Regions from separate parts of the Homo sapiens genome. Here region 2 is linked to region 1. Evidence: promoter capture Hi-C in human tissues and cell types (Jung and others, 2019). All regions are on one chromosome and are shown on one strand. Each heading gives the region's core, a stretch centred on a gene start or on the middle of the fragment in contact. The rest is flanking DNA. Distances are from core to core; before and after follow the strand shown. Region 1 holds the start of SKIDA1 (SKI/DACH domain containing 1). Region 2 has its middle 100 kb from the start of NEBL.

Region 1 (4,753 bases), core at 548-3,047:
GGAGATAAAAAAAAAAAAAAAAAAATCACAAGTTCGAATTTATGGATACACAAGTATCATTTCATATTCATGACATCAGCAAATCACATCATAATCAGATTTGAGCAAGGTTTGGACACTAAGACCCAAAAGACTGGACACTCAACACTGACAGTATCACATATTAACCAGAAAATTCGCTTTTTTGTTATGGAATCATAGGGTGAAAATTAAGTCTTTTAACTTTGAAAAGCTTACTTTTCACTTCTGAGGCCAATTTTTACACTAATAAATTTCAAGTAAACGTCTCTTTTAAAGTTGTTCCACAACATTTTAATTCAAACTTCTATTTCCTTTCTCAGTTGGGGTAGTGTTTTGTTTGTGTTTTAAAAAAACACATGGCACAACAAACGTTATGGAAAACGCACTCATTCCGTTAAATGCCGATACAAACCTGCCTTTTACTACATCTGTCTAAGCAGCGCATTGCTAAGTATAAACTTAAAAAAATTTTTTTTTCTCAAAGACATATCTATTATTTCTTGGCAAATACTATTTGGTGATGTGGTGCAAAAACACAATGGTAAAAAATTTCGGGGTATTTGTAAGTTTTCTGGAGAGTTGCAGGCCCCTTTCCTTTTGAAAGTTTAGAGCTCCAATACCCTCAATTCTACTGGCAGAATTAGGATGGACTTAGAGGGTCCTAAACGTGACCGATTCACTAAGGCGGGGGGGGGGGGGGGCTACAGCTTGCAGCAACGTGCTCTGCAACTTAATCCTACGCTAAAAGAGGGCAGAGAGCGAAAAAGAATGGAATACAAACTCTCCCGACATCCGTAGTTACTTTCAAGGTGGATTGTGTATTTTAAGGCTGATGGGAACGTCTGGTTTGTGGAGCAAAAAGAAGAGAAGGTAAGTGTTTGTCCTTGTATCCACCAGTTCGTAGAGAAACAATGAAAGAACAAAGGGAACCACTTCCCCATCTGAACATTTTCTGTATCTCCCTCCGTTTCAAGCCAAAAAGCTTGGGAAGGGATTCGCTTTACTCTACCTTAAGTAGTGGTTGCTGGCTTGTTGAACTAAGAATGAGAAAAAAGTTGAGAGGCAGATATAGACTAAATAATAATAAAAAAGGCTTGCTGTGGCGGATCTCCACCGCGCCAGTGTCAGCAACTTGCAGCAGAAGTTGCTCAATGCACGGAGGCAAAGCCCAAGAAATACCCTTTGCACACCAGATTTCGAACTCAGTCATTTAAATAGACTTTCTTGCTGTTTGAAGGGGTTTCTGCGCACAAAATGTGTAGGTAGTGGCTATGGGAGAGATGTACTATTTAGGTCGAAAAATGATCTCATGGCTATCTGGAAAAGAATTTTTAAAAAGGAAAGGGGATTCAAGTATCACGTTACTGTTTGCTAATAGAAGAAATGGCAGCACTGGCTGGGAAAGGAGAGGGATTCGTATTGAAATGCATTTGCTTTGGGGTACGCTGGTTATCCGCAAGTCTGGCTTTGTGGGTCTGCGTGGCTGAATAAGTGACCAAGTGCCTTCGGCATTATATAAACGGATCGATGTGTGCGGGAGTCCCCAAAGCCGTCGAGCACGTGAAACGCGACTTTTTACTGCCCTCCAAGCGGCGACCAAGCCCCGCTCCACCCCACCCCGCCTCAAAATCCGTATATTACCTGCCCTGTTACAGTGACACATGTTTATGTTTATAGTCCTGGTTTGTAGTAGTGTCAAGAACCGCAGCAAGAGGAAGGGGAGGAGAGAGGAGAGGGAGGAGTAAATTCAACCACCCCCACTTGTTGTTAAAGCAAATTTACTGCGTTATTGCAAGCTCAGGACGGGGGGCTGGGATGAGAGTTGAGAGGAAGGGTTGAGTTGGGAAGTGTGTTGGCGGTGGAAGGTGGGGGTGGGGTTAAGAGCTCCGCAATGGAGCTCCTCTCCCCAGCAGCCCAGGAAAAGCAGCTCGGTCAATAGGGGAGCATGCTGGCGCGGTCGAAAACAAAAAGGTTCCTCCTGCTCGCTGCGTTCACGTGGGGGGCTCTGCACGCGGGGCTCCAGGGCCGTGACCCCTGACCCCGGCTCCTCTCCGCGCTCTCCGGTGCCGCGCGGCCACTTTTTACCCAGGATCCCTCGCGCGGGCCGCGCTCGTGCCGAGCTGGAGTCCTTCCTAATCCTCCATTCCCGGCTCTCGCTCCCCGCCCCCGCCGCCAGCCCCGGGGGAGGATTCTCCGGCGGGGAACCCCCGCCCCACCCCCACCCCGACTGCCCCGGCGGAGTCGGCCGCAGCGAGTCCGCGCGGGGCGGGGAGGGCCGGGCCGGGCCTCCCCTACCGCGCCGGGCCTGCGAGGGAGGGGAGGGACGGGGAGCCGAGGGGAGGGGGCGCCGGCCTCCCGGCTCAGCTGCCCCACTGAGGCCTGGACCTGTTGACTGCGATTGGCCCGCCTCATCCCGCGCCCTCTCTCTGCTCGCAGCGGCCCCAGCCCTTCCGCGGCGTCGCGGGGAGGAAATGGGGATGGCTGTCCTCCTCTCCGCCTCCTTCTAACTTTCCTTTTTTTATTTGGGTGTGTTGGGGGGGGTGCTGAGAAAGCCCAGGCAACTCCACCGCCGCCCCATCCTGCCTCCGAAAGTCTCGTCACGCCCGACCCGCCGCCGCCCTCCCAGCCCCCATGACTTAAAACCGCCTCCCCTCCTCGCAGCGGCGCCCCGGCCCGGAGCCCGAGAGCCCTCGACGCCCCCGCCGCGCCTCCCCCGCCTGGCCTGGCCCAGCGGCGTCCCCAGCGAATTGTGTCGCTTTTCTGCCCTGGAAGCTCCCTCGGCCACGTTCCACTTTTTTTCCCAGTCCCAGGAGGCGTAAGATAAAACCTCTGATTTGCTGCGTGCTGCCGGGCACATTCTCTGCCCTCTCGTCCGAAGGACGAGTTTAAAATGGAGAGTTTAAAATAATAGCATTTACAGGAGGAAATAAAGAGCGAGGAGATGGTTCTTTGGCCGGTTTTAAGACATACATGCTTTTTTTTTCTTTTAATACAAGATGTCTTAAGGGTTAAAAGCGTTCTAGGGTTTGCTGTATTTCCTTCTAGATTTGGGGTTTCCTGAGGAAATCTTTTCCGGAGGGAAATAGCAAATCAACATTAAGATGGAAGCGAGACTTCTCAGCCACTTTTGGAAATGAAGGGGGAAATTGTAAAAATACATTCAGAAAAGGGCGCGAAGGCGGCGGCTGAGGGGAAGAAGCTGGAGTCTTGGGAGGAAGCGCAGTGGGTTGGAATCGGGGGAAGGAGGGCCCGCTAGGTCCGGGCGGGGAAGAAGGCGTGCGGGCGGCGGGGCGTGCGCCGGGCCGGGCAGCTGGAGGAAGGCGCGGCGGGACTGGCGAGCGCGAAGAGGCAGGCGGGGAAGGCCTCGGGGGGCGGGGGCCGGGCGCGGGGCCGGCGCGCCGGAGGAAGCGGGACCTGGCTCCTCGCGCCCGCCGGGCCGCCCCCATTGTTCTGCCCTAGCACCGCTGTTAGCCGAGCACGTCCTGACCGAGGGAGGGGCCCCGCGGGCCAACCCGACCCCCGTCGGCGCCTCCCCGGGCTCCTGAGCTCCGGCCGGGTCGGGTCGGGCCGGCGCGGCAAGTTTTGATGGTCAGACTCAGCCAGCGAGGGGTTCCCAGCTGAAGACCTCGGAGGAAGGAGCCTTTACAGCGTGCTGCGAAATTGAAGGAAGCCGGGCGAGCCTGCAACGCACACGTTATGAGAAAAAGGGAAAGCAACATAGATATGTTTATAAAGTGATAAATAGATAAGAGACACCCGTGGGCAGTTATTATTCTGGATCCGGAAAGTTACAGTAGATTATATAATATTTGAAATATCTTGAAAAGTATGGATTCAAAAATCCATTTAAAAAAAGGTTCAAAGGAATTCGGAAAAGCACGTTTCGCTATCCTTATTACTGATTACTCAGCTCTTCTTTGTACACAGAAAGTCTAGTTTTAAAAGGAAAGGCTGAGCTAGCCCTTTCAAAAACGGGCTTCCTTTAACGTGAAGTGCGTTTTCAAAATAGGGAATTTCAAAAGGGAAAAACGTTTAATTTGCTTTTAAGCCACGTTTTGGAAACAAATAATTGCAATCCACTTAATAAACTCTGTCTGTTTTCCTTTGTGAGGCATATGGAAGAAATATTTCTGGCCAACGTCACAGTTGTTTTTTTTTAAATGAAGATTTCCAACAAGTGCTTGCGAGTCTTGTCGACAAGACCAAAGTCATCGTGCGTGAAAGGCCAAGAAAAAATAATTTCAATCCTGTGGTCCAAACCTTACTAGGGCAAGAGAGTAATTTCGACTTAGGTTTATGATAGACTTTGCGGAAATTCCTTCTAAAATACTCATTAGTAGTCTGTGTGTTATGAAGCACTGTTTCCCAAGGTAGATTTTAAAAAACCAATTAGAATTGATCTTTAATGGAATATTATATTTACACGTCATCATGAAAACATCATTTGACAGAGTTTTGAATTACAAGAAAGGAGTTAACAGATGATGCTCATAAATAGCATCTGTTTGAAAAGACCCCTTAAGAGTCAGTTAAAGGTAGTGATTGTTGTATTTTTGCATTTGAAATGCTGTAGAAGTTGCTTGCATTTTAACACTTTCATTTTGCGGGTCTTCTTTCTAAACTTGCATTTCCTCATGGAAATCATTCAGTTATTTCGAGATATAGGGAGAAATTCTTATGTAAGATATCATTTGAGGCGTAACTATGGAAAGGTTTGAACAGAAAAAAAAAT
Region 2 (4,750 bases), core at 487-2,986, 530 kb before region 1:
GGGTTATTTATCCATAATCATAAACATTTAGTTTCAAAAATCCATCTTTCTACACTGTAACTGAACATAATTTTAGAAAGCTTTGGTCACTACTTGGTTTTTACTTTACTATCACTGTTTGTCCATCAGTATGAAAGTCATTTCCCCTTAAATAATAGCCAAACTCTTTAATCCTAATCCTGAACTCACTCACTCACTCACTCAATCCTTTGTTCATTTAAACATTTACAATGGTGGGGTTGCAGAGATAATGGGATCAGCAGGCTCCCTGCCCTCTCAATCTCTGACCACAGCCAGTAACAGTCCCTGTTACTCAGGTCTGGAATCTCAAAAGGCATCAGTGGCATTAGACTTCCATCTCTCCCCATGGCACTGCCAAGGGGGGCAAGGTGGGGAAGGAAGTGGCCACAGTCACCATTAGGTACCCCCATCCCTACAGCCGCAAACCACACCAAATAAACGCACAGTCTCAGTAAAAAAAAAAAAAAAAAAAAAAAAAAAAAAAAAAAAAAAAAAACAGAACTCCTGAAGAATTTAGGATTCGGATTAGTAGCCAACCCTGCAATGCACTATGGATTAAAGTGTTCAACCAGTTCCTAACAAAGTATCATTACACAGAAAAGCAAATTTCTAATATAATTGGGTACTTTCTATGATCAGATCTACTTTTTAAAATGTTTTTGAAATGTGAATAATATATTATTTCATTGGTTTTATAATAGCTTCAGTGGTAATGTTCTGATCAGTAGTATAGCAATAACTGAAAACATTAGATGCTTGAGATAGGATCCTATACAGAATTTGAATTTAAAAATCAGTAAGCTCAGAAAACATGAGGACATTTATTCAATACCAGTTAAGATGGGTACAGCCAACAAAACAGAGTGCTGCTAAAATAATAAACTGGCTAAAATCATTGACCTCCAAATGAAAAGTTTACTACATAACTTAATTAAAAGTATTAAAAACATTCAGGAATGATGAAAATCAAATGGAGCCAAAAAATAAATTAAATACAATAAAAGGCTATTTATCAGAAATCACAATTTTTAAAAGTCCAAATATAAAAATTTCACCTAATGAAGAGATCCTGGAGAATTTTAAACCTAAAATGTCATATCACTGATACGATACGGTATGGAAATCACAGAAATGTCATAATAATGACAATGCTGAGATAGCTAATAAGAAACATCTCAGGCTTTGGAGTCGGAAAGTCCTGAGGCCAAATATTAGCAAGGACCCTGAGTAGCCGTGTGGCCTCAGGCAGTTTACATGACTTCTCTGAGCCACAGCTCCCTCATCTACAAAATGAGAACAATCATGCTAACCTAAGAAAGGTATGGGGAAGATTAAATGAGATACTCTACAAAAAGCCTTAGCAAACAACTGGCTCATCGTTAACTCCCAGTAAATAATGTCTGTTATTGTTTCCAATAACTCATTCATTCATCTAGAATCTATGGGGAATCCAAAGATAAGGTCTCCACTCTTGCCAGGGCTCTCAACAATAGGCATTTAGAAACCATGGCTCCTGGCTGCTTCAAGAAATGTGCAGATAAAAGAAGGCAGGGGAAATGGTAGAACCATAAAAATGCTACGTCTACATCTCATACTTAACATCAGAATTAAGACATATATAACCAAGCAGATGGCCAGGAAGAATAGAAATTCCAATAATGCACACAGCAATAATACTATCCAATCTGCATATTACATTAAAAATCCAACTGGCATTGCTTTGAACACTCTGCAACATGTCAACTCTGACACCCCCTAAAAGTCACAATCTGAATTCACAACTAGCCCCAATGAAGTCCCTTAATTCGATCACTTTGTTTGTCTATGGACTAACTTCTGTCAGTCTGATATACGGATCATGAGGACTGTGAGATGACAAGGATGGAAGGTCACACCGCAGCAAGTTCTGGGGGCCGCCAACAAAACAGGATCCGCCATCTGGAACAAGTGAAGATATGCTGGGTGTTCAGGGTTAGGCAAGGCCTGGAGTCAGAGCCAGTAAAGAAGTCCAAGCAAACAATAATTCATTCCCTTTCCCAGACTTATGTTTGAATTATTTATTTTTATCTGCGGCACCAAAAATTTCCAAATCCTTGGCTTTTACCATACAAAAACTGTACAGAAACCCAGAGGTGTGTGGGGGGAAAAAAAAAAAAAAAGGCTGTCAGGGAAGAAAGGCGTACTCTCTGAGTAAGACTCTGGTTTATTCCAACAATCATTTATTGATTGCCCAATTATGTGTGAGAAGACCTGCAGTGATGCTATATTCTCCCAGCCCCACAAGAAATACAAGCCAGGCTGGATGCAGTGGCTCACGCCTGTAATCTCAGCACTTTGGGAGGGTAAGGTGGGAGGGTTGCTTGACCCCAGGAGTTCAAGACAAGTCTGGGCAATATGGCAAGACCCCATCCCTACTAAAAATTTAAAAATATTAGCCAGGCATAGTGATGCATGCCTGTAGTCCCAGCTACTCAGGAGGCTGAGGTAGGAAGATCACTTGAGCCCAGGAGGTTGAGGCTGCAGTGAGCTGTGATTGCATCAATGCACTCCAGCATGGGCAACAGAGTGAGACCCTGTCTCACCTCACAAAAGAAAAAAGAAAAAGAAATACAAACCAAACTGATTCTATATCCAGGATCTATATACCCAGGGTTGTAAAAGCCAAAGCATTTTCCCTACACTCACTGGGACCTATCTAAGGCAATGAGGTCTGATGGCTCCATGTTCTCTTACAACCCCCGCTTTAACTGCCGTGGAGGCTGTGAAGCCTGTCGTATTTCTTCAAACATAAACATGAACGCTGCTCCTTTAATGTCTTTCTTCTCCCATAATAATCTATACTCTAATTCAAAGAAATGCAATTTCATCGTTGGTTCCCCATGCTGATGTTTGAGAAAAGATCATGTGATGCAAACCGTAATGACTAAGGAATATAATCAAGACGACGCCAGTAAGTGATTTCCAGCAATGTAGTCATTTACTACAAAGCACTTCCTCCTCTGATGGAAGGTTTTAAAAAATTAAGCTTTCACTGCTGCCACGAACTATTGTAGTTTGGAAGGCGGCCCGTGGCAGTGTCACCATCTTCGGTGAATCTAGTGAAGAGCTTTGGCCACTAGGGCAAGGAAAAAGCCAGGCAGAGGGGGGCAGAGAGGGGGCAGAGGGGGATAGAGGGGGAATAGAGGGGGTATAGAGGGGGCATGGGGGGCCAGAGGGGGGCAGAGGGAGCTGCAGCTACCACAACAGATTATTGCCCTGCCCTCAAGGGGCCATATGGCCCCAGCATGGCCCCAGGAAATAGCTACAGAGAGGCCCTGAGTGCTAGCTGGATGGGGTGGTTTATTGTGTCCCATGCTGCACTATGGTAGGGGGGATTCTGGTCCCCCCATTAGTCCCCTGTCAAAAGTGACTTTTCCTGGCCAAACAAATTTATCCCTCCCCATCTACACAGGGTTGCAGAATGTTGACCTTCTGCAAAGAACAGAGGTCTCTAAAGAGAGAGAAGCCACCCATTCCCAGGTAAATGAGTCAAGCAGGAGACCAGCCTTTGCAAAGGAAGGAGCAAAACATTTGTAGAAAAATAAAATCAAGTGGGTAAGAATTTGTTTAAATTGAAACTCTGAACATTTTGAGATAGAAGGTTAAATACTTACTGCAAACAGAAATAAGGCTCCCAAAACGAGAAAGCAACACCCCAAAATGACAAAGTGAGCAAAAGACTGCAATGGAGCAGATGACATCAGGTAAGATGTCTCTTGTCTTTCTGGATGCTCTGCTGTTTTTGCAGTCTAAGATATGGAAGAAAGCTGATTCACTGGAGAGAAATCAAGTGCATTGAAGGGAGAGAAAAAAGGTAGGATGGCCAGGAAGGGCCACATTGGGATTTAAGGGCAGAGAAAAAGGGAAGAAGCCCAGATAGAGCTGGAGAGCTGGTCTCCTGCAGACAAAGCCAGCACAGGAGGGTCCTGACTTCCTGGTCAGGAATTCGCTCCTGCACACCCAATCATCTGCAGTTCCCTCAGGAAACCAATGCAGGTCCCCATGAGCTTGTATAGATCCTCCCTTCTCCACAGAAAGCAGCAGGTAAGATGTCAGAGGGATGGAGGTGGTCAGGAAAATGCTAGTCTAACCCCAGGCCTAGACTCTATTGCCTGCTTCCCCAGGTCCAGCCAGCCGACAGACCGCCAGAGACAAAAAGCTAACAGCACCTGGTTGTCACATTCCAGGTGAAAACAGGTACCTAGTGCTAGAGGAAAATCGGCAAGTAAAGAGAATGTCTTGTCCCACAGACATTCCCTGGGACAAGCTGGGAGCCACGTAGCAGCTGGGAATCAGAGAATCCAGGGAGGTGGAACACAGCCAGAGTTCTTCCTATCAGAAAGATTTTTCCAACTTGTAAGGTGGACATCATTTCATAGCCTAGCAAAATAAATGATTTGCAAGACAAGCTATGGCATTATCACAGATACTCCAGGGAAAGAAACCCCAAGGAACATCATGCCACTACTGATAAAGCTCAATTTTCAGTAATTAGGAGGTAACTAACACGCAATCCACAGGTGAACTTATTGCAGAAGCCTAGTGCTCCTTGGGAAGTCAATATACTCACAACTTTTTTTTTTTTTGTCTTTAGCCCATTTATGCCTAGTGTTCCATCATTGGAACTCTAAGCATGTGGGAGTTATTTATATCCTACTGCTCAAGGTCATCGCCAAGGTCTGATTGCAAA

The links. Contacts are between HindIII fragments. The study calls those that stand out against the background at their distance.
Region 2: a contact is called between a fragment that was not itself captured here and the fragment with the promoter of SKIDA1 in region 1, in 2 of the 25 tissues and cell types used here (dorsolateral prefrontal cortex and mesendoderm cells).

What each region holds. Positions count from the first base shown.
Region 1 is chr10:21,523,885-21,528,637 of GRCh38, forward strand. SKIDA1 (SKI/DACH domain containing 1) reads right to left here and starts at 1,798. Exons shown (of 4, transcript NM_207371.4): 1 at 1,663-1,798. RefSeq lists enhancers at 1,190-1,833, 1,834-2,477 and silencers at 2,133-2,552, 2,673-2,822, 3,268-3,387, 3,398-3,717, 3,577-3,735. The HindIII fragment of the contact is 2,515 bases long and covers 618-3,132 here.
Region 2 is chr10:20,996,998-21,001,747 of GRCh38, forward strand. It overlaps a transcript of NEBL not described here. Among named protein-coding and RNA genes, the nearest start is that of NEBL, 100 kb to the left of the region's middle. The HindIII fragment of the contact is 5,722 bases long and covers 1-4,597 here.